Regions from separate parts of the Homo sapiens genome. Here all the other regions are linked to region 6. The links are contacts of gene promoters, found by promoter capture Hi-C in human tissues and cell types (Jung and others, 2019). All regions are on one chromosome and are shown on one strand. The core of a region is centred on a gene start or on the middle of the fragment in contact, and the rest is flanking DNA. Distances in the headings are between cores, read along the strand shown. Region 1 holds the start of NAT8L (N-acetyltransferase 8 like). Region 2 holds the start of ADD1 (adducin 1). Region 3 overlaps POLN (DNA polymerase nu). Region 4 overlaps ADD1 (adducin 1). Region 5 holds the start of SH3BP2 (SH3 domain binding protein 2). Region 6 holds the start of RNF4 (ring finger protein 4). Region 7 overlaps LOC124900839.

The links. The method cuts DNA at HindIII sites, captures the fragments that hold promoters and counts their contacts. A contact is called where the count stands out against the background at its distance.
Region 1: the fragment with the promoter of NAT8L here is called in contact with the fragment with the promoter of RNF4 in region 6 in 1 of the 25 tissues and cell types used here (mesendoderm cells).
Region 2: a contact is called between the fragment with the promoter of ADD1 here and the fragment with the promoter of RNF4 in region 6, in 1 of the 25 tissues and cell types used here (dorsolateral prefrontal cortex).
Region 3: a contact is called between a fragment that was not itself captured here and the fragment with the promoter of RNF4 in region 6, in 1 of the 25 tissues and cell types used here (dorsolateral prefrontal cortex).
Region 4: a contact is called between a fragment that was not itself captured here and the fragment with the promoter of RNF4 in region 6, in 1 of the 25 tissues and cell types used here (dorsolateral prefrontal cortex).
Region 5: the fragment with the promoter of SH3BP2 here is called in contact with the fragment with the promoter of RNF4 in region 6 in 1 of the 25 tissues and cell types used here (lymphoblastoid cells).
Region 7: a contact is called between a fragment that was not itself captured here and the fragment with the promoter of RNF4 in region 6, in 4 of the 25 tissues and cell types used here (IMR-90 fibroblasts, aorta, dorsolateral prefrontal cortex and 1 more).

Annotation. Positions count from the first base shown.
Region 1 is chr4:2,058,064-2,061,006 of GRCh38, reverse strand. NAT8L (N-acetyltransferase 8 like) reads right to left here and starts at 1,680. Exons shown (of 3, transcript NM_178557.4): 1 at 1,120-1,680; 2 at 1-9. The coding sequence starts at 1,495. The HindIII fragment of the contact is 12,290 bases long and covers 1-2,943 here.
Region 2 is chr4:2,842,541-2,845,240 of GRCh38, reverse strand. It overlaps ADD1 (adducin 1), which reads right to left and starts at 1,397. Exons shown (of 16, transcript NM_001354761.2): 1 at 1,217-1,397. RefSeq lists silencers at 936-1,085, 1,206-1,395, 1,456-1,835, 1,936-1,985 and an enhancer at 2,114-2,625. The HindIII fragment of the contact is 4,953 bases long and covers 1-2,700 here.
Region 3 is chr4:2,122,408-2,125,193 of GRCh38, reverse strand. All of the region lies in intron 19 of POLN (DNA polymerase nu), which reads left to right. Among named protein-coding and RNA genes, the nearest start is that of NAT8L, 64 kb to the right of the region's middle. The HindIII fragment of the contact is 8,083 bases long and covers 1-2,786 here.
Region 4 is chr4:2,862,678-2,865,377 of GRCh38, reverse strand. All of the region lies in intron 1 of ADD1 (adducin 1), which reads right to left. Among named protein-coding and RNA genes, the nearest start is that of ADD1, 20 kb to the right of the region's middle. RefSeq lists enhancers at 1,804-2,515, 2,516-2,700. The HindIII fragment of the contact is 4,367 bases long and covers 1-2,700 here.
Region 5 is chr4:2,791,738-2,794,484 of GRCh38, reverse strand. It overlaps SH3BP2 (SH3 domain binding protein 2), which reads right to left and starts at 1,400. Exons shown (of 13, transcript NM_001122681.2): 1 at 1,347-1,400. RefSeq lists a silencer at 1,333-1,682. The HindIII fragment of the contact is 44,064 bases long and covers 1-2,747 here.
Region 6 is chr4:2,467,744-2,470,493 of GRCh38, reverse strand. It overlaps RNF4 (ring finger protein 4), which reads right to left and starts at 1,388. Exons shown (of 8, transcript NM_002938.5): 1 at 1,236-1,388. LOC107986250 (a long non-coding RNA gene) reads left to right here and starts at 1,543. Exons shown (of 2, transcript XR_001741551.3): 1 at 1,543-2,094. RefSeq lists enhancers at 746-865, 910-1,482, 1,166-1,525 and a silencer at 1,676-1,845. The HindIII fragment of the contact is 20,287 bases long and covers 1-2,750 here.
Region 7 is chr4:2,032,026-2,034,766 of GRCh38, reverse strand. All of the region lies in intron 1 of LOC124900839, which reads left to right. Among named protein-coding and RNA genes, the nearest start is that of NICOL1, 8.6 kb to the left of the region's middle. The HindIII fragment of the contact is 6,531 bases long and covers 1-2,741 here.

The sequences.
Region 1 (2,943 bases), core at 431-2,930, 410 kb after region 6:
AGCACAGCGCTGGGGGCAGAGGGCGCGGGTCAGCGGCGCGGCGGGGGTCCCCAGGCCCCAGAGACGCCACCCCGGCGAAGCCCGCTAGGGACGCCGCGCCCGGCCGCGCTCCTGGTGGAGGAGCCGGGGTCATCTCGGGTGCTTTCTACTTCTCCCTATTTCCAAGCTTCCTGCGGTGAAGACAGCCACCCCACCCACCCCCACCGCCTGGAATGAGCCTCGGCGGGTCTCTGAGCTTCCAAACACGGCAGGACACCCTCGGGATGGCCGGGCCGGGAAGGACTCTGCCCACGCTGGCCTACTGAAGCCAAGGTGGGCAGATCCTGGCAGGGAGCTGCCCCGCAGACCAGGCCCCGCGCGGGGGAGGGGGGAGGGGGGAGGAGGAAGGGGGGTGTCCCACGTTCCAGCCTCGGGCTCCAGGACCCCCTCTTCCCAGGGCCCCAGCAAGAGCCCTTCCTGGCCAGCGTCCGGGAGCTCTGAGGGCAGGGACAGGGCAGGGAGGCCCCACACCGCTTCCAGCCGCATTTCGGCTGCCGTGACCTTGGGGGAGTCGCGTCCTCCCTACGCGGCCTCAAGCGCCTCATCTGTAAAATGGGAGCGAACCCCCTCACCCCGGCAGGAAGCTCTGAGGGGAAGGGCACCCAAAGACGCTGAAGGGGCCGCCCTCTGCGACCGCCCCGGCTGTGCCAGGCGCGCGCACCCCCCGCGGCGCCGGCTGTCTTCCCCTCATAAATTAGCACCGAGCGGGAGGCGGCCTCCCCCGCCCGCAGATTATATTTAGGCACTCGCCGGGGCCCAGCCGCGGCGGGCGCTACCTGCCCTGGCACCCGCCCCCACCCAGGATGCCCGGGAGGGGACAGGGGAGGCGGTGGGGGTGGGGGGCTGCGCGGCGGGGACGCAGGTGCGGACCCCGGACCCTCCCCGGCTCCGGCCCGCTCGGGGCCCTGCGCCCATCCCCACGCCCATAGCCAGCCCTGCGCGGGGCCCGGCGCGGCAGAAAGCGGGGGGCTTCCCAGGCTGGTCCCCGGGAGCCGGGCGCGGGGTCCGCGTGGACGCCGGGGCGGGGGAGCTCCGCGCCGGCCCGAGGGACTGCGGCAGCCGGGGGCCCGGCGCACTGACCCGCCAGCAGGGCGTAGAGCAGCTGCGCGCGCGGGTGCTGCCGCAGGCCGCGGAAGGCCGTGTTAGGGATGCGCTCCATGATGCCGTCGTAGAAGATGCGGCGCGCCGCCTCCTGCTCGGCCGCACGGAACTCGCGGATGCACACGCCGCGCCCCCCCGGCGGCCCCGCGCCCCCCGCCCCGCCGTGAGGCTGAGCCACCGGGGCAGGTGGGGGCGCGGGGGGCGCGGCGGCCGGCCCGGGCGCGGCGGGCAGCGGGGGCCACATGGCGCCGGCGGCGGCGAGCAGCGCGTCCTTCTTGGCCCCCGGCAGCGCCTCATGGTCCTCGGCGGCCACGATCTTCGTCTCGCAGACCATGTCGGGAGGCCCACAATGCATGCACCCGGCCGGGCGGCGCGGCAGCGGGGACGCGGCCGGGCGGCGGCGGGCACGGCCGGGCCCAGGGCAAGGGCGCGGCGCCCTCGGACCCGCGGCGGCGGCGGCGGCGGCGGCAGCGGCGGCGGCGGCGGCGGCAGCTCAGGGGCGCGGGGCGGAGGCGGCGGGCGGCCGGGGCGCGCGCAGGGAGCTGCGCCGCATTTTGGAGAAGTATTTATAATGCGGCGGCGCCGGTGCAGTCGCGGCGCCCGCGGCCCGCAGGGTCCTAGCGTCCACTGCATTGGCTGCCGGGGGTCACCATGTGATCGCGGGGGTGGGGGAGACGCCGCCCCCGCCTCGCCGGGTGGCTCGCTGGGCGCGACGGGGCGGCCGGGCAGCGCGAGGGGCCCGGCACGGGCGGGGGCGGCGGCGCGGGCGGGGGCTCCTGGCCCGGGGGCGTCCGGCGGGGCTCGGGACCCGGCCGCGGAGCGCGTGATGGGCGCCGCCCGCCCCGCCCCCCGCTCCCACGCCGCGCGCCTGGGAGCGCCCCGACCCCGGGCCCGACCGCTGGCGATCGCGGCGCCACGTCCTCCTCCTCCTCCTCCGCGGCCGCCCGGAGCAGTCACGGCAGCGTCTCCCGCTCCGTCTCCTGCCTTTGTTTGAAAGCAGCGCCCGCGGTGGACCTGGGGAGAGGGCGCCGCGGCTGCCCCGGCCCGGAGCCCCCGGGAAGCCTCGTCCGGAGCCGCACGGGCAGCCGGAGTGGGGACGCGGAAGGGCGGGGTCTGCGGCCTGGCGCGGCGCCCCCCTGTCCGAGCCCCGCAGTGGGCACGGGGATGCGGGGCCCGCAGGACCCCTCCCGGCCCGGCCCCCGCCCCCCGCGGCCGCGCATGCGCCCCGTGGCCTCGGTGCAGGTGCAGCGGGGGCTCTGCGCCTTGTAGGACCTGCAGACGCCGCAGGCTGGGGCGGAGAAGCTCAGGTGCGGGGAGGCGGTCGCAGACCCCATCCTCGGCGCTTCTCGAACCTAGCCCCCTTCAGTTCTGCGCGACCTCCCAGCACCACCCCGAGGGCTGCCGGAGCAGAGCTTCCCCGACATGCGCGGGCGGGACGGGGCCAGGGGTCCAGGCCTGGGGACCCGCAGTCTGCGTTGTGCGGTGGAGTTGGGGCCAGCCGGGCAGCTGAGGTCACCTGAAGGCCAGGAGGGGCTGGGCCTGCCCGTGGACGTGGGAGTGAGGCCGCAGCGCCCTGGTGGGGTGGGGAGGGGCGGCTGAACTGGTCCACAGCCCCGTCCGCCAGAGAACGGGCCCTGGAGAGGGGCAGGGGACGGGGTGGGGGCGTGGGGGGGAGGGGAAGCCAAGCTGGGAAGGCGCCCCCTCAGTGTCTGGGGCCCGCTGTCAGCTTTTCAACCTAAAGGAGAAAACAGGCAAAACGAATAGAAATAGTTTGTTGGGGCCAAGTTTGAGGACTGCAGCGTG
Region 2 (2,700 bases), core at 148-2,647, 370 kb before region 6:
ATTAGCTGGGCGTGGTGGCGCGCGCCTGTAGTCCCAGCTACTCGGGAGGCTGAGGTAGGAGAATTGCTTGAACCTGGGAGGCGGAGATTGCAGTGACTGGAGATCGCGCCACTGTACTCCAGCCTGGCGACAGAGCGAGACTCCGTCTCAAAAAAAAAAGGTATCATCGCGGGCCTTTGTCCATTCAAGGCTCCAAAGTTTACAAACTCACTTTCATACAATTCACACCCTCTGCCTGAAATGCCCTCCTCTCTCTGGTGCCTGTTGAACTCCTACTCATCCACTCCAAGCTTGTTTTCACTAGGCGCCTCTACTCATAGACACAGTCGACCTATCAGCATTCTATTTCCTATCCCCATTAAGATCTCAGTCAATTTTTCACACAAAAAATCTTTCTTTAACTTACCAGTAATGCATACAGCTATCAGCTATGTCTTTGGTCTTTGGAGATATGACAATTGCTTTTTGTCTTTCTAAACATAAATTATGCTCAAACCAACAACAGTTTCAGGCGAACCAAAATACGTTTTTCAAGGTGGGTATGCATAAAGTGAATGCAAATTACCTCCCAACTATCTTGAGCCATTACAAGAGCAAAGATAAAAGTCATCCTAACAGGGAAAGGCCCTCTGACATCTCCCAAAAAACGAAAATAAAAGATTAAGAAAAAAGAAAAGAGAGGGAGGGCAAAGGTGACCAACAGCCCCATCGCTGATAAAGTTCCACGATTATCTCTCGAGCGTCCGTCGGCAGATATGGCTTTTCTCTTTTGGCAGAAGCCGTCGTTTTTAAATACGAGAGCCGACAGATGCGTCCGTACACAAACCTTGCAGCCACCAGCGCTGCGGACCGCGGAACCGGTCTCACAAGCAGGATGCTGACCAGCGTCCAGCCAGGGTCGTCCTCCTCCGCCCCCACCCCTGCAGCCCACAAGCCGGCCAGGAACGAGCGGCCCGGGAAAAGCCTAGTCCCCGGGGTCCTATCCCGATGAAAGATCTGCGGCGCCCTCGCTCCCCGGCTCGGCCCAGGCCGAAGGCCCCGCGGGGACCCCTCCAAGACGCCCTCGGCGCCGCAGCGGCCTCCCCGCCCCCGAGGCTGCCCGGGCCGCCGCAGGCCCCGCGGCCCCCGCCCGCCGCAACCGCGGCCCAGTTCCCCGCGCCCCCGCCGCCGCCTCAGCCCGAACCGGGCCCCCGCCGCCCCCGCTAGCTAGCCTCACCTCAGAAGCGAATCGTGGGCAGCGCGCGGGATTCCGGGGTCCCAGTGCGGCCACCGCCCGTCGGCTCCGGCTCCGGCTCCGCCCCCGTCCCCTGGCCCGCAGCAGCGGCCCGCCAGGCCTCTCCGCCCCTCAGCCCCTCCGCTCGCCCCCACCGCCCGACCTGGGTGCGGCCTGCGGCGCTGCAGCCCAACAACGCGCCGTCCCATAGGCCAAGCCGCGCAGCACTGCCGAGCAACGTACCCTGCGATTGGCGGGACCCATGAGGGGCGGGTCCCCTGCGGGCAGGGCGATTGGACTCGCCAGGCCCGCCTCGGGGCGACCCCGCCGGGGCCTGCGGAGGCCCAGGGTCCCGCGCGGAGTACACCCCGGCCGGCAGCTTCGGGCGCCAGGTCATGGCTTCACGGTGGCCAGGTAGACTGCGGCGAGCCCCTGCCGGGTCCGCTGGACACGGTTTCATTGTGATTGACCTCCGCCGGAGGGGCTGTCGGAGCCCAGGGACCCTGCCCTCCCGCCGCCGCCCAGCGCACTCCCCCAGCAGACGGGCCCTGCCCCGCGTAGCCCCGCCTTGTGCAGTCCCCAGGCCGAGTTTTGGGGCCCGGGTGGGGTCAAGGCAGCAGGGCCTGTGGGCCCCGATAAGGCTCCACAGAGGACAACTGCCTGGCCCCCGGGCCCGGCCTGCGGGTGCTGAGGAGACCAGCGAGCACCAGCCACCTCCGCACGACCAGGGAGTGAGCCTGCGGGGCTTTGGCAGGACCAGCCTCAGACCAGCACCTTCCCGCACACTGTCCCTCCTGCTGGCGCATCTGACACCCAAAAAAACAAGCAGCGAGACAAATGGGCACGGCTGCTTGTCCTCTTGACACCCATAGAAAGCTTAGGTCCAGAGCTGGGCAGTGGCAGAAGAGTGTGGAATCCAGACCTCCCTGCTCAGCAGGAGCCTCTGTGACATTGCCCCAACAAGGGTCAGGGATACTGTCTGGATGGAAGCCAGCGACCCCTGTTCTAACCATTTCTGTTGGACGTTGGCTTTTCCAAGACGATTTTTCTGACAAGATCACAATTCTGTCTCATTCACTTCTGCTTCCCATAGTTAATCACTAGGGAAACGCAAATCAAAACCACTGTGGGATACCACTTAACATTCATTAGGATGGCAGTTGAAGAAGCAGGGAGTTGGGCGCAGTGGCTTCAGCCTAAAATCCCAGCACTTAGGGAGGCAGAAACAGGAGGATAGCCTGAGCCCAGGAGTTGGCAGACTTGACTGGACAACATAAGGAGACCCTGTTCTCTACAAAAACGAGAAGAAAACAAAAAGTTTCAAGGGGGGAGAAGGAGGAAGAAGAGGAAAAAAAGAAAATAAGTGTTGGCAAAGATGCGGAGAAATTGGAACCCTTTGTGCATCGCTGACGGGAATGTAAAATGGTGTGGCTGCTGTGGAAAACCGTAGAGTGGTTCCTCAAAAAATTAAACATAATTACCACATA
Region 3 (2,786 bases), core at 169-2,668, 350 kb after region 6:
GCTGTGCAGTGCACAACCAGCCCAGCCTTACATGGCAGCCTTCATCCATGTTCCTTTTATTTTCCATTTTTACTCTAGCATTGTTAACATATCCTTTGTTGATTTCCTCGTTCCCCTCTACTGGGGGACAAAAAACCTGCTTTAGGATTGCCCTAAATATAACCCTAGAAAGAAATCCTATCTTCAACCTGGTTGAAGACCTCATTTATTGCTTAGGTACAAAAGAAATCTATACTTACTCCCTTTACTTTCTCACTGCCAGCTCTTTCTTGCTTCTTAAAACAAACTTTCATTTTACCTACATAGGCGTTTATTTGTATTTGAAGCCTGGAGCTCCTCACATCTAAGACAATGATCGCCTCCAGGATGTGCCTGGCTCCGAGGTCCAGGGCCAGCAACAGCAACGAGGACCCCACCCCCAGCAAGGGACAAGTCAAAGCCTCCACAGGGTCTTTGTGGGTGTGCAGCATCCCTGGGCCCTGCCTGTCCCGGTGCTTTCTCCTGGTCTCTGTGCCCCCGCTCCTGGGAAAACATCCTTCTCCTAAGCTCTCACCATCTTTTAAAATCAAGATATAATTCACAGACCATAAAATTCACCTTTTTAATGTTACAATTGGCCTGGCACAGTGGCGCATGCCCATAATCCCAGTATTTGGGGAGGCAAAGAGGAGAGGATCACTTGAGGCCAGGAGTTTGAGACCAGCCTGGGCAACATGGCAAGACTCCCATCTCTACAAAAAAAATTTTTTTTTAAATTAGCCGGATGAGGTGGCACACGCCTATCCTGTAGTCCTGGCTGCTTGGGAGGCTAAGGAGAGAGGATTGCTTGAGCCCAGGTTGAGGCTGCAGTGAGCTATGATTACACCACTGCACTCCGCCTCGACAGAGCAAGAACCTGTCTCTCAAAAAATAAAGTTACAATCACGACTATCTAATTCCAGAACATTTCGATCACCCCAAAAAGAAAACTCATGCCCATTAACCACCACTCCCAATTCACCCCGCCTCCCGGCCCTGGAAACCACTCATCTACTTTCTGTCTCTAGATTTACCTATTCTGGACACTTCACATTAATGAAATTGTACAACATGGAACCTTTTGTATCTGGCTTCTTTTGCTGAACATAGTATTTTCAAGGTTTATCCATGCTGTAGGAGCTAACAGTACTTCATTCCTTTTTAAGGCTGAAAAATACTCTATTATATGGAATAATATATTCTATATATTTCAATATAAATAAGCAAATAATCCGTGTATTTATCTATTCATCAAATGTCCTTTGATGGACATTTGGGTTGTTTCCACTTTTTGTCAATTATGAACAATGCATTATGCACATTTGTATACAGGTTTGGTTTTGGTTTTGGCTTCGGTTTTGGTTTTTTTTTGAGACAAGGTTACACTCTGTCCCCTAGGCTGGAGAGCAGAGGCACGATCTTGGCTCACTGCAACCTCTGCCTCCCAGGTTTGAGTGATTCTCCAGCCTTACCTCCCAAGTAGCTGGGACCACAGGTACATGCCACCATGCCTGGCTGAATTTTTTTTTCTTTTTTTTTTTTTTTTTTTTTGAGACAGGGTCTCACCCTGTCGCCCAGACTGGAGAGCAGTGGTGCAATCTTGGCTCACTTCAACCTCCGTCTCCCAGGATCAAGCGATTCCTGCCTCAGCCTCCCGAGTAGCTGGGATTACAGGTATGCGCCACTACCACCCAGCTAATTTTTGTAATTTTAGTAGTGAGAGGGTTCCACTATGTTGGCCAGGCTGGTCTTGAACTCCTGACCTCAAATGATCCACCTGCCTCGGCCTCCCAAAGTGCTGGGATTACAGGTGTGAGCCACTGCACCCAGCCTAATTTTTGTATTCTTAGTAGAGATGAGGTTTCGCCATGTTGGCCAGGCTGGTCTCAAATTCCTGATTACAAAGCAACCTACCTGCCTCAGCCTCCCAAAGTGCTGAGATTACAGGTGTGAACCACCACGCCCAGCTGAGGTTTGGTTTGGTTTGGTTTGGTTTGGTTTGGTTTCTGAGATAAGATCTTGATCTGTTACCCTTAGTGGGAATGCAGTGGCTCACTCCCACTCACAGCTCACTGCAGCCTCAACCGCTTGCTGGACTCAAGCAATCCTCCTGCCTCAGCCTCCTGAGTACCTGAGACCACAGGCACATGCCAGCATGCCTGGCTAGATTTTTTTTTTTCTTTTTGGTAGAGGCTCTGTCTTCCTATGTTGCCTAGGCTGGCCTCAAACTCCTGGGCTCAAGCAATCCTCCCTCCTTGGCCTCCCAAAGTGCTGGGATTACAGGTGTGAGCTACCGCCCCTGGTCTGTGTGCAAGTTTTTGTGCAGACATACATTTAAATTTCTCCTGAGTGTATACCTAGGAGTAGACATGCTGGGTCATAAAATAATTCTATGTTTAACTTTTTTTCATTGTGGTAAAATACCCATCCCATAAAATTTACCATCTTAATCATTTAAAATGTGCAGTTCAGTGGTACCCATATTTAACTTTTCCATGACCTGCTAAACAATTTTCCAAAAATGCTGCACCATTTTACATTCCCACAGGTGTGTGGGGTTCAAGTTTCTCTGCATTCTCACCAATACTTTGTATTACCTGTCTTTTTGATTCTAGCCATCCTGGTGAGTGTGAAGTGGTATCTCATTGAGCTTTGACTTGCATTTCCTTGATGGGGATGGATGTTGAGCACGGTTTTGTGGGCTCATCATTTACTCTCTGTCCCTGCCCCTCCTCTACCTCTGAACACAGGTGCACCCTGGGGTGTTT
Region 4 (2,700 bases), core at 156-2,655, 390 kb before region 6:
TTTTTAGAGCTAGGCAGGAAGCATTTAAAAATCACAAAAATAAGCCTAAGAAGACTTGCCAAAGGTATGTTCATTGAAAATTAATTGTGTCAGCTGATGGAGACTTGAAAGTCTTTATGCTATCAAGTAATTATGAGTACACAAAATTTTAGATGGTCTAGTCTTCACAAAAACAAGGAAATACTGTCAGGCAGGAAAAAAAAAACAAGAGAAAATAGTGTATGTATGGCATCTTTTGTGGGGAGAAGGAAGAGAATAAGAAAAACATTCACATTTCCTTCTATTTGCATAAAGAAATGCAGGAAGAATATACAACTTACAATGGTGATTTACTTGTAAGGAGGAACAGGGAGCTGGGTGGATGGGGACAGAGATGACCAGGAGATCCTTTATTTGTTCATAGATATACACACACACATTTTTAAAGATTAATTTATAAAAGGGAAATTTACAAAATAATAAAATTTGAAAAATAAAACAAGTGAGGCACAATGGGGTCCAGGAGTTCAAATCCAGCCAGGCAACAAAGCAAGACCCCATCTCTTAAAAAACCAAAAACTCAAACCATTAAGAACGTGAATAAAATAATAAGCATCACTGAGAGCAATAAGCCCCCCTTCCCTGCTGACATCAGCGCCCCCCACCTCCTGGAGAGTAGACTCCAGAGGGAGCCAGGGACCCTGACAAGAAAAAGGAAGGAAGTGTAAACACCTAAGAGTGATTATAAGCATAGGGCCACCTGGCAGAAGGGCACACAGAGCAGGACTCCAAAAATCTCCTGAACTTGGCATCTCAGATACATTCTAATAAATAAAATAATAAGCATCACTGTGAGTATAAAATGAACAGAGGACACTGTTGGAACATTGTATTTTCAGCAGCATAATGATACAAAACATTTGTTTAAAGTTTTATATTTTACAATATAAATCCTGTTTTTTGTTTTGTTTTGTTTTGTTTTTTGAGGCGGAGTCTCGCTCTGTCACCCAGGGTGGAGCAATGGCACGCACGATCTTGGCTCACTGCAACCTCCGCCTCCCGGGTTCAAGCAATTCTCCTGCCTCAGCCTCCCGAACAGCTGGGACTACGGGCACACGCCACCACGCCCAGCTAATTTTTTGTATTTTAGTAGAGATGGGGTTTCACCGTATCGCCCAGGCTGTTCTCGAACTCCTGAACTCAGGAAATCTGCCCACCTCGGCCTCCCAAAGTGCTAGGATTAAAGGCGTGAGCCACCACGCCCGGCCATAAATTCTGTTATTTAAGTGTTTTAGCAGGATAGCCTTATCCTGATCTCACAGGTCATAAAATGTAGGTCCTCGGAGATTGTGTCTTACCCTAAGGTAGAGACAGTAAGTTAACCAAACTCTCTAGTTGACAGTGTATAGGGGTTAAATGTGCCCCACATGGTCTCCACTCCAAAATGATTCTGTTCATATCAGAATAGAATCTTTTCTTTCTTATCTTTTCTCTGGGACTCAGTTTTTCCATCTATAAACAGGGTATAGTAGCCAGGCACAGTGGCTCATGACTGTACTCACAGCTACTTGGGAGGCTGAGGCAGGAGGATCTCTTCAGCCCAGGAGTTTGAGACCAGCCTGGGCAACACAGTGAGACCCTATCTCTTAGAAAACAAAACAACAAAACAAAACAAAAAAAAACAAGGTGTAGTAATGGCAACCATGAGTGATACAGTAAAATCAAAAATGCTGTCTGGAAAGCATTTAGAGTGTTTGGCAGACAGCAGACACTCACTGTAGGGTGGCTAAGATTACTGGACAAACCTAAGAACCAAGTATCCTGGCTTCCAAGCCTATGAACTTTCCACAGCACCAAATTGCTTCTTGCAATGATTTTTACTGTCAGTGACAACTGAAAATTTCTGATCCCTGTCATAACACTTGGTCTCCAAAATACATTAAATACTGTTTCTCATATATATAATTTGCTTCTAATTATTACTACCACTTTCCTATATTAACATTCAAATAATTTCTGAAGTCTAAAAATTCCAAGTAAAGCCTTGTACAGTGGCTCACAACTGTAATCCCAGCACCTTGGGAGGCAGAGGTGGGCAGATTGCTTCAGCCCAGAGTTTGAGACTAGCCTGGGCAATATGGCAGAACCCTAGCTCTACCAAAAAAAAAAAAAAAAAAAATTAAAAATTAGCTGGGCGTGGTGGCATGCACCTGTAGTCCCAGCTACTTAGGAGTCTGAGGTGAGAGGATCACTTGAGCCTAGTAGAGGCTGTAGTGGGCCATGACCATCCCACTGCACTCTAGCCTGGGTGACAGAGTGAAGCTCTGTCTCAAAAAAATTCAATAGGCATGACAGTACTGAGGTAGAGGGGAGAAGCCACACTCCAGAAGTCTCTATAGTTGGGTCATGGAGAGAAGTGGCAGATCCCATGCAACTTTTCAAATGCAACTGGAGCAGAGTCAAAGGATGACAATCATTTTCATGGAGTCAGCACTCAGTCACCAAATATCTACCAAGCACTAACTGTGAGGCTGCTATAGACCAGGCATTGCTCAGCAATCCACATTCTCAGGGGACATCAATGAACAAAACAAAGATTTCTTACATTCCTGCAGGGAAGCCAGGCAATAAACATGATAAATAAGTAAATCACACAGTCTGTTAGAAGGCGACAAGTGCTATGGGTAGGGAACTGGGAGTCCAGGGGGTGGGGAGGTGAGT
Region 5 (2,747 bases), core at 151-2,650, 320 kb before region 6:
CTCGTCCCAGGCCTCCTGTCCTGCCAGGAGTGGAGTGCCTGGAGTGGGGCCCTGAGGTTGGGCTCCAAGAGGGCCCTTCGACGGTGTCTACGTAGAGGAGACAGTGGACAGAGTGGGAAGAACCAGGAGGGGGTGGAGCCCAGCCCCTCCTCTGGTCCCACAGGGCCTGAGCCAGTGAGGGCAGGAGCTTGTCCAGGCTCATGGAGTTGGTGCAGGGCTGACCTGAACCCAGAGGCTTGCTTCGGCAAGGAGGAGGCTGTGGGCCCTGCCTTCAGGCGGTTGTGGAAACAATTCTACACATTGCATCACCGGCCCATGTCACCTGCAAGGCCACACACATGTCATCCAGGCAGGCTGTCCACCCCAGCAGCCCACACGGAGTACCCGCCCCTGGCCACAGCCAATTCGAAGGACTTAAGTGTGGCCACTAGACCAGGAGGCACAGCTGTCCCCAGTGTCAACAGATGAGCAAACTGAGGCACAGAGAGGGGATAGGAGGTGCTCACGGAAAGGAGCACCAGCAGAAGGCTCCCCACAGCAGGGCTCAGGCCCTCAATACCCCCAGGGAGCCGAGGCCCAGAGCAGCGGGAAAGTGCTGGGCTGCAGGGAGGCCAGCGTACAGGTGGAAGGGGCTGTCCCCGCCCCCTAACTCCTCCAGTCCCTCTGCCACCCCTGAGATTCCCTGTTGCCCATGAGAGTCTCAGACGCCCGGCTATCAGTCACTCACACTTCAGTGTGAATCAGCGCCAGTGGGCGGCTTTTCTTGCCCTCCGTGAAGCGCGGCCGCTGCAGAGGGAAGTTTGGATTCCGGGAAGGGCGGAGAGCGAGTGCCCGCCGCAGCCTTTGAGTCTTGTGGGGAGGGTCGCGTAAAGGGGCCCCGCCGCGGGGCCAGAGGGGCGCGAGGGGTGCGAAACAGACGCGTCGCACCGCCTCCCACCCCTGAGCCCCCGGCAAGGGACACCCGGCCCCCGCCCCGAAGCCGCGCTCCCTCGGGCACTGCCCGCCGTGCCCAGGCCCCGTGCGTCCTTTGGCAAGGACACGGAGGCCCCGGGGCCCGGGGGAGGCTGCTGCGCACCCGAGACCCCCGACACCCGCCCATACCTGCCGGGACCCTGAGACTCCCCCGAGACCTGCCAAGACCTGCCGGGACCCCTGAGACTCCCCGGAGACTCCCCCGAGACCCCCGAGACCCGCCGAGACCTGTCGGGACCCCGAGACTCCCCCGAGACCCCCGAGACCCGCCGAGAGCCCCCAGACCGCCAAGGCCCGCCGAGCCCCTTCCAGACGCGGAGACCGCCCCCCCGCGAGACCCCCGAGACCCGCCGAGACCCGCCGCCGAGGCTTACCCGCCGAGCGCTCTCCTGGCCCGCGGGCCCTGGGTCGAGGCGGCGGCTTGACTCGGCCGCCAGGCGCTCCCGCCCGCGGGACCCGCCGCCGCCGCAGCTCCGTCCCGCCCGCGCCCGCCCAGTCCGCCCTCCTCCTGGCCCCGCCCCGGCCCCGCCCCTCCCCGGCGGGTCCCGCAATCCTGGAGGTCCGAGCTGGGCGTGGGGCGGGGCCGGTACCTCAGGGTGGGCGGGGAACTGCACGTGGCCTCCGCGGCCCCGGGACGAGGCCCCTGGGGGGCGAAGACTGGCGTTGTCGCGGGCCTAGACGCCGGGTCCACAGTAGGTGCTTAGTTCTCGCCCGTGAGTGAGGTAGCGTGTCTGTCCCTCCTGCGTGTCCCTCCCAGTGACACCCCAGTGCCCAGCGACCCAGGTGGAAAGGGCGCTGTCCACCCCCCCAGCCCCGTGGTCCTGATCCTGGGCGGCCCCACCCCTGCCCCGTGAGTGCGACTTAGGCCCTGGCCAAGACAGGAGCAGGGGAGGTGGGGGAGGGCTTGCTGGGCACCAGGAAACCTTGTCTTTGTTTCCAAATGTCCTCCAGGGTACTTTTCAGGCACTTCCCAGGGGGACCTCGCCTCTTGGACCAGGTCTGGACTCCGGTGGCCCAGAGGTCGTCTTGGGGCTGGGAGGCACAGGAGACCGGGTGCTTTACACTTGGCCTCCTCTGAGGCTCCCTTTCCTCCACCATCACCCTCTCCCTAAGAGTAGGCCCAGATGCCTTGGTGTAAGGGCAGGGGCGAGAAGAGGAGGGGCTTCCTGGGAGGAAATGGCTTCCCTGGGGAGCTCTCAGGGCCAGGTAGGTGGAGGGAGCCGTGGAGAAAGTGAAGAGGCTGGGGAGACCAAGCTGGGCCTGCAGAGCTTGAGGGCGAGCGGACCCCCCACCAGTGCGGGAGTCAACTGCTTGGGGCGTGGGGGGACTCCTCCCCATGAGGAGTGGGGACTGGACCCCAGGTCCCAGAGCCCAGGAAGCTGTGAGTAGAGGAAGGACAGGATCTTGCTGGGAACCCAAGGGAGCTGGGGGTGGGTGGTGGTGACCTGGCCCTGTCCAGGCAGGCGGCCAAGGTCTGACCCTCTGTACTGAGCACAAGAGGCCAGAGTCCAATGACAGGGGCTGAATTGGCTGCTCCAAATCAGGCAGGGGCAGGGGTGTCCAGGGCTGGCCCTGCAGCAGGTGAAGGACTGGGTTTGGGTCCTACAGGTTGAAATACCTGAGGGCCTCCAGGAGACACAGCCAAACCAAGCGGGTTCTCAGGGTTGCAGCTGGACCGAGTGTGGGCCAAGTCACCGTCCACCTGTCCCAGAGCTGCCCAATAATGGGTCCCAAGCCTCAGAAAGGGGATCCCTGGCTGCAATAGCCCTCCTCCC
Region 6 (2,750 bases), core at 139-2,638:
TTGGAAGCTCAAATTCAGGCAATACAAAAGCCAGCAATATATCTTGCTACTCGAATGCCTCTATTTCACCTCAAACTCACAGATAAAACTGAACCCAATATGTCCTTGTCCATTAAAAAGCAAATCACCAAGAAAGTAACAAAAGATTCCCTTCAATGTCTCTTTTATTGACAGTGGTCCCAAAACTCCTGGTCAATGAATTCAAAACCCAAATCTTGCAGGTAGGACTTAACCTCATCTGCTGCCAAATAGCTGGCTATGTGACCTTGGGCAGACCACTTCACTTTTCTGGACCTCAGTCTCCCCAGTCAGTTGGACAGTCTAAGCCAGGCTCCAGAGCTGAGACCCTACGTCTGGCTCAAGAACTTGGTGCAGAAACAGAACGAAGATTATTAAGTTTGTGAACGTCTATGGGAACTGACAAGTGAAAGACAAAAGCTGAAATCCCTACCAAAACGGCTTGCCCAAGCTCTATCCTTTTCCCTCTTCCCTCGATGGATCAAAGGCGGAAAAGCGGTGTTTACTAGCAACTCTGTTTCGGGTCGTGAGAATCTTCATACACCTGTCTATAGGCGCGCCAGAGCGGTGAAGGGCCCGAGCGGTGCAGGGCTGGGCCGCAAGCCTCACAGTCGCACGTTCCACCAACCACCAGCCGGGGCCCGGAAGCGCGCCCGGAAATCGAGGCCCTACTAAGTTTTAGACTGCGACCTCGGCGCCCCCACGGTCAGGCCCGCACCCGTACTCAGATCCTCCCGACCTACAAAAGGCCCCGCCACGCGGCCCACGCACCCCGGCAAACTCGCAGGCCCCACGATGGCGGGGCGGCGGCGCGAACACACAAAGGAGGCGTCGTCAGCGGGGAACAAAAACCCTGCCCGGGTCTTCCCCCTAACAGCACATCCTGCCCGACTTTCCAAGTGACCTTGGGGGCGTTCCTGCCCCTCCCAGAGTCTCAGTTTCCCTTCCTAGGCTAGGAACTAAGCCCCATGGCCGCGGCCCCCCAGGGTGAGCCGAGACCCAGACGCAGACCTCCTAACTTCTGTTGCCCGCGCCAAGCCGGGCTCGGTGCGCCCGCGCGGACGGCAGTGCGAGCGACCAGAGCTGGCTCGAGGTCCCGGGCTGCAAAGCCTCGGCTGGGTCAAGCCGCGCAGCGCGGCTCCCCCAAGAGGCGCGGGCCGAGGCCTCTGTAGGCCGCGAAGCTGCCTAAACCTCGCATCTGCAAGGCCCTGACTTACCGCTGCTTTCCCGCAAAGCTCGGCCTAACCTGGAGCTAGTTAGGTCCGCAGGCGCCACCGCCGGCGCACTCCGGAGAAGAAGCTCCTTCTTCAGCCGCCCAGGAGAGCTCCTCGAGAAAGATGCCGCCGCCTCAACAGCAACCCACTTCCGCTTCGGAGGCCTCGGCTCCGCCCCCCATCATGTCCCCATTGGCCGCCCGCCTACTCTACTTCCGCGGTCGGCCGGGTAAGGACAAATTTTTTAATCCTATTGGATAAGAAAACCATCTGTTACCACTTTAAAACGCGCCTCTTTCCGCCCCCGCCCACAATCGAGCGCACTAACTCGCACCTTCCGGCAAGAGACGGCGCGGGCGCGCCCCGCCCGCAAGGTTTTTCGGGAGTCACGGTCTGAGGGCGACCCGGGCGACCCGGTCGCCCGTGCCCGGCTGCCACTGACCGCTCCAACGCCGCCAGGGACGACCCGCCAGCTGCCTCCGGAGCCGAGCAGGCCCCGAACCTTCCCATTCCTAGATTTCCAGCCGCACAACAGCCGCGGTGCCCCTGGCTCGACGCAGCTGGCCGGAGGCGCGGAGCTGGTCGTTCGTCCCGCCCGCCGTTCCGCGCCCCTCTCCCGGCTCTTGTTTCCTCGCCTCTTAACGAGGCCTTTGTGAGGAAGGTTGCTGGGCCTTGGGACTCTGACGATCGGCTGGAAACCAGGCCTGGCCCTGTTTCAGCATCCCCGCGTGCCAAGCCCTGGGCCGGCGTGCGGGTCCCTGCCCCTGCGAGGAAGCTGGGACTTTTGCAGGCCTGGGTGGAGACGTGTACATAACAGAGGAAGAGTGTGGAGGATTGGAGGACTCAGGGCAGCACGGCAGAGGTGCATGCAGGTCCCCGGTCGGACTGGAGAATGGGCGGTGGGTTTCTTGAGCTCCAGTCCCTGAGCTCGACTTTGACGTGGGTTTAGCAACCAGGAAAAAAGCCCACCTTGTCCCTGCTGCCTGAGAATACCCAGACCTTAGTCCATGGCCAGCATCTCTGGTCCCTCGGCACCCTCAGGCAACGTGAAGGTCACCCCAAATGCCTTGGGTTACATTGTTTCCTTACAGTGAGTTTGTTTGTTTTAGTGGCGCGATCTCGGCTCACTGCAAGCTCTAACCTCCTGGGTTCACGTGATTCTCCTGCCTCAGCCTCCCGAATAGCTGGGATTACAGGCGCCTGCCACCACGCCCGGCTAATTTTCTTTGTATTTTTAGTAGAGATGGAGTTCCATCATGTTGGCCAGGCTGGTCTCGAGCTCCTGACCTCAGGTGATCCACCCTCCTTGGCCTCCAAAAGTGCTGGGATTACTGGTGTGAGCCACCTCGCCCGGCCACCTTACAGTGAGTTTCTAACCTCGAAAATGGAGTCAAATAACGGAATGACAAGGCAGATAGAAACCAGAGCATTAACGTTTTTGTGTTGCATTTACAAACAATATGTGTTTGCTATTTTTCGTAATTGTAAGGAAATCTGGCATGGTAGAGTATCTGATAG
Region 7 (2,741 bases), core at 9-2,508, 440 kb after region 6:
AGTTAGCCGAGAAGAAGGCATTGAGGCCAAAGCTTGACCTCCCCAGACATCTGCTCAAAAAGTGGAATTAATTGGTCTAATCAGGGTCCTCCAACTGAGAAAAGACTTAAGAGTCAACATATTTACCGATTCCAAATATGGGTGCCTGGTGCTCCACGCTCATGACGCCATATGGAAAGAAAAGGGAGCGCTAACAGCTAAGGAATCCCCCACACAGCATTGCTCTGAGATCTTGGAATTGTAGATGCTGTCCAGCTCCCAAAGGAGGTGGCAGTTACTCACTGCAGGGGACACCAAAAGGGGGACACCTCTATCATCCCGGAGGAAATGCCCTGATGGACAGGACAGCCAAGGCCACAGGTGAAGAACACCAGTGCTCCAGGCCACGGACTAATGCCAGGTACTGCACCCATGCCAGCAGCACCCTACTGTACTCCTGAGGAAAGTAAATGGGCAGAACAGATGGGCTTACAAGGCCAGGCGTGGTGGCTCACACTTGTAATCCCAGCACTTTGGGAGGCTGAGGTGGGTGGATCATGAGTTCAGGAGTTCGAGACCAGCCTAGCTAACACAGTAAAACCCTATCTCTACTAAAAATAGAAAAAAAAATTAGCCAGGTGTGGTGATGCATGCCTGTAATCCTGGATACTCGAGAGGCTGAGGGAGGAGAGTCATTTGAACCTGGGAGGCAGTTTTCCCTGGCCAGTGCTAGGGAGATTGTGAGGTTTGGACTGGGCAGAATTCCCCACAGCGCAGCACAGCAGCTGTGGCAGATTGTGGCCAGACTGCCTCTTTAACTGGGAACCAGACCCATCCCTTCTCACCCGAGCAGTGCCTCCCTGCAGGAGTTCCAGCAACTCCAGCCAGGGGTTTACGGACAGAACTTTCATCTCCCCAGGTCAGAGCACCTGGGGAGAGTGGTGGCCGCAGTCTCAGGTTGGACAGACTTAATCTTTCCTGCTTGCTGGCTCCCAAGAGTCCCAGTGACCTGGATGAGGGGGCATTCCCCCCAGCGCAGTGCACCCACACTGGTAAGGGGCAGCCAGACTGCTTCCTTAAGCAGGTCCCTGATCACATGCCTCCTGACTGGGTGAGACCTCCCAACAGGGGCCACCAGACACTTCATTCAGGAGAGCTGCAGCTGGCATCAGGTCGGTGCCCCTCTGAGACAAAGCTTCCAGAGGAAGGAGCAGGCAGCAATCTTTGCTGTTCTGCAGCCTTCACTGGTGATACCCAGGCAAACAGGGTATGGAGTGGACCTCCAGCAAATTGCAGCCGACCTGCAGAAGAGGGGCCTGACTGTTAAAAGAAAAACAGCCAGGCGCAGTGGCTCACGCCTGTAATCCCAGCACTTTGGGAGGCTGAGGAGGGTGGATCACAAGGTCAGGAGTTCGAGACCAGCCTGGCCAATATGGTGAAACCCTGTCTCTACTAAAAATACAAAAATTAGCCAGGCGTGGTGGTGGGCGCCTGTAGTTCCAGCTACTTGGGAGGCTGCAGGAGAATCGCTTGAACCTGGAAGGTGGATGTTGCAGTGAGGGAGCCAAGATCGCGCCACTGCACTCCAGCCTGGGTGACAGAGCGAGACTCCATCTCAAAAAAAACGAAAAAAAAGAAAATAAAAGAAAAACAAACAGAAAGCAACAACAACAACATCAACAAAAAAGACCCCACAAAAACCCCATCTAAAGGTCAACAGCCTCAAAGAGGAAAGGTAGATAAATCCACAATGAGGAAAAACCAACGCAAAAATGCTGAAAATTCCAAAAGCCAGAATGCCTCTTCTCCTTCAAATGATCAAAACACCTCTCCGGCAAGGGCACAGGAGTGGGCTGAAGCTGAGATGGATGAACTGACAGAAGTACGCTTCAGAAAGTGGGTAATAATATACTTCACTGAGCTAAAGGATTATGTTTTAACCCAATGCAAAGAAGCTAAGAACCACGATAAAACATTACAGATGGTGTTAACTGGAATAACCAGTTTAGAGAGAAACATAAATGACCCGACGGAGCTGAAAAATACAGCACAAGAACTTCATGATGCAAACACAAGTATCAACAGCCAAATCAACCAAACAGAAGAAAGAATATCAGAGCTTGAAGACTGTCTTGCTGAAATAAGGCAGGCAGACAAGATTAGAGAAAAAATAATGAAAAGGAATGAACAAAACCTCCGAGAACTATTGGACTATGTAAAAAGATTGAACCTACAACTGATTGGAGTACCTGAAAGAGACGGGGAGAATGGAGCCAAGTTGGAAAACACACTTCAGGTTATCCTCCAGGAGAACTTCCCCAACTTAGCAGGACAGGCCAACGTTCAAATCCAGGAAATCCAGAGAACTCCAATAAGATACTCCATGAGAAGGTCAACCCTAAGGCACATAATCATCAGATTCTCTAAGGTTAAAATGAAGTAAAAAATGTTAAGGGCAGCCAGAGAGAAAGGCCAGGTCACCTACAAAGGGAAGCCCATCAGACTAACAGTGGACATCTCAGTGGAAACCCTACAAGCCAGAAGAGATTGGGGGCCAATATTCAACATTCTTTTTTTTTTTTTTTTTGAGACGGAGTCTTGCTCTGTCGCCTGGCTGGAGTGCAGTGGCGCAATCTCAGCTCACTACAAGCCTCTCAAGTAGCTGAGATTATAGGCACATGCCACCACGGCCGGATAATTTTTTGTATTTTAGTAGAGATGGGGTTTCACCATGTTGGCCAAGATGATCTTGATCTCCTGAC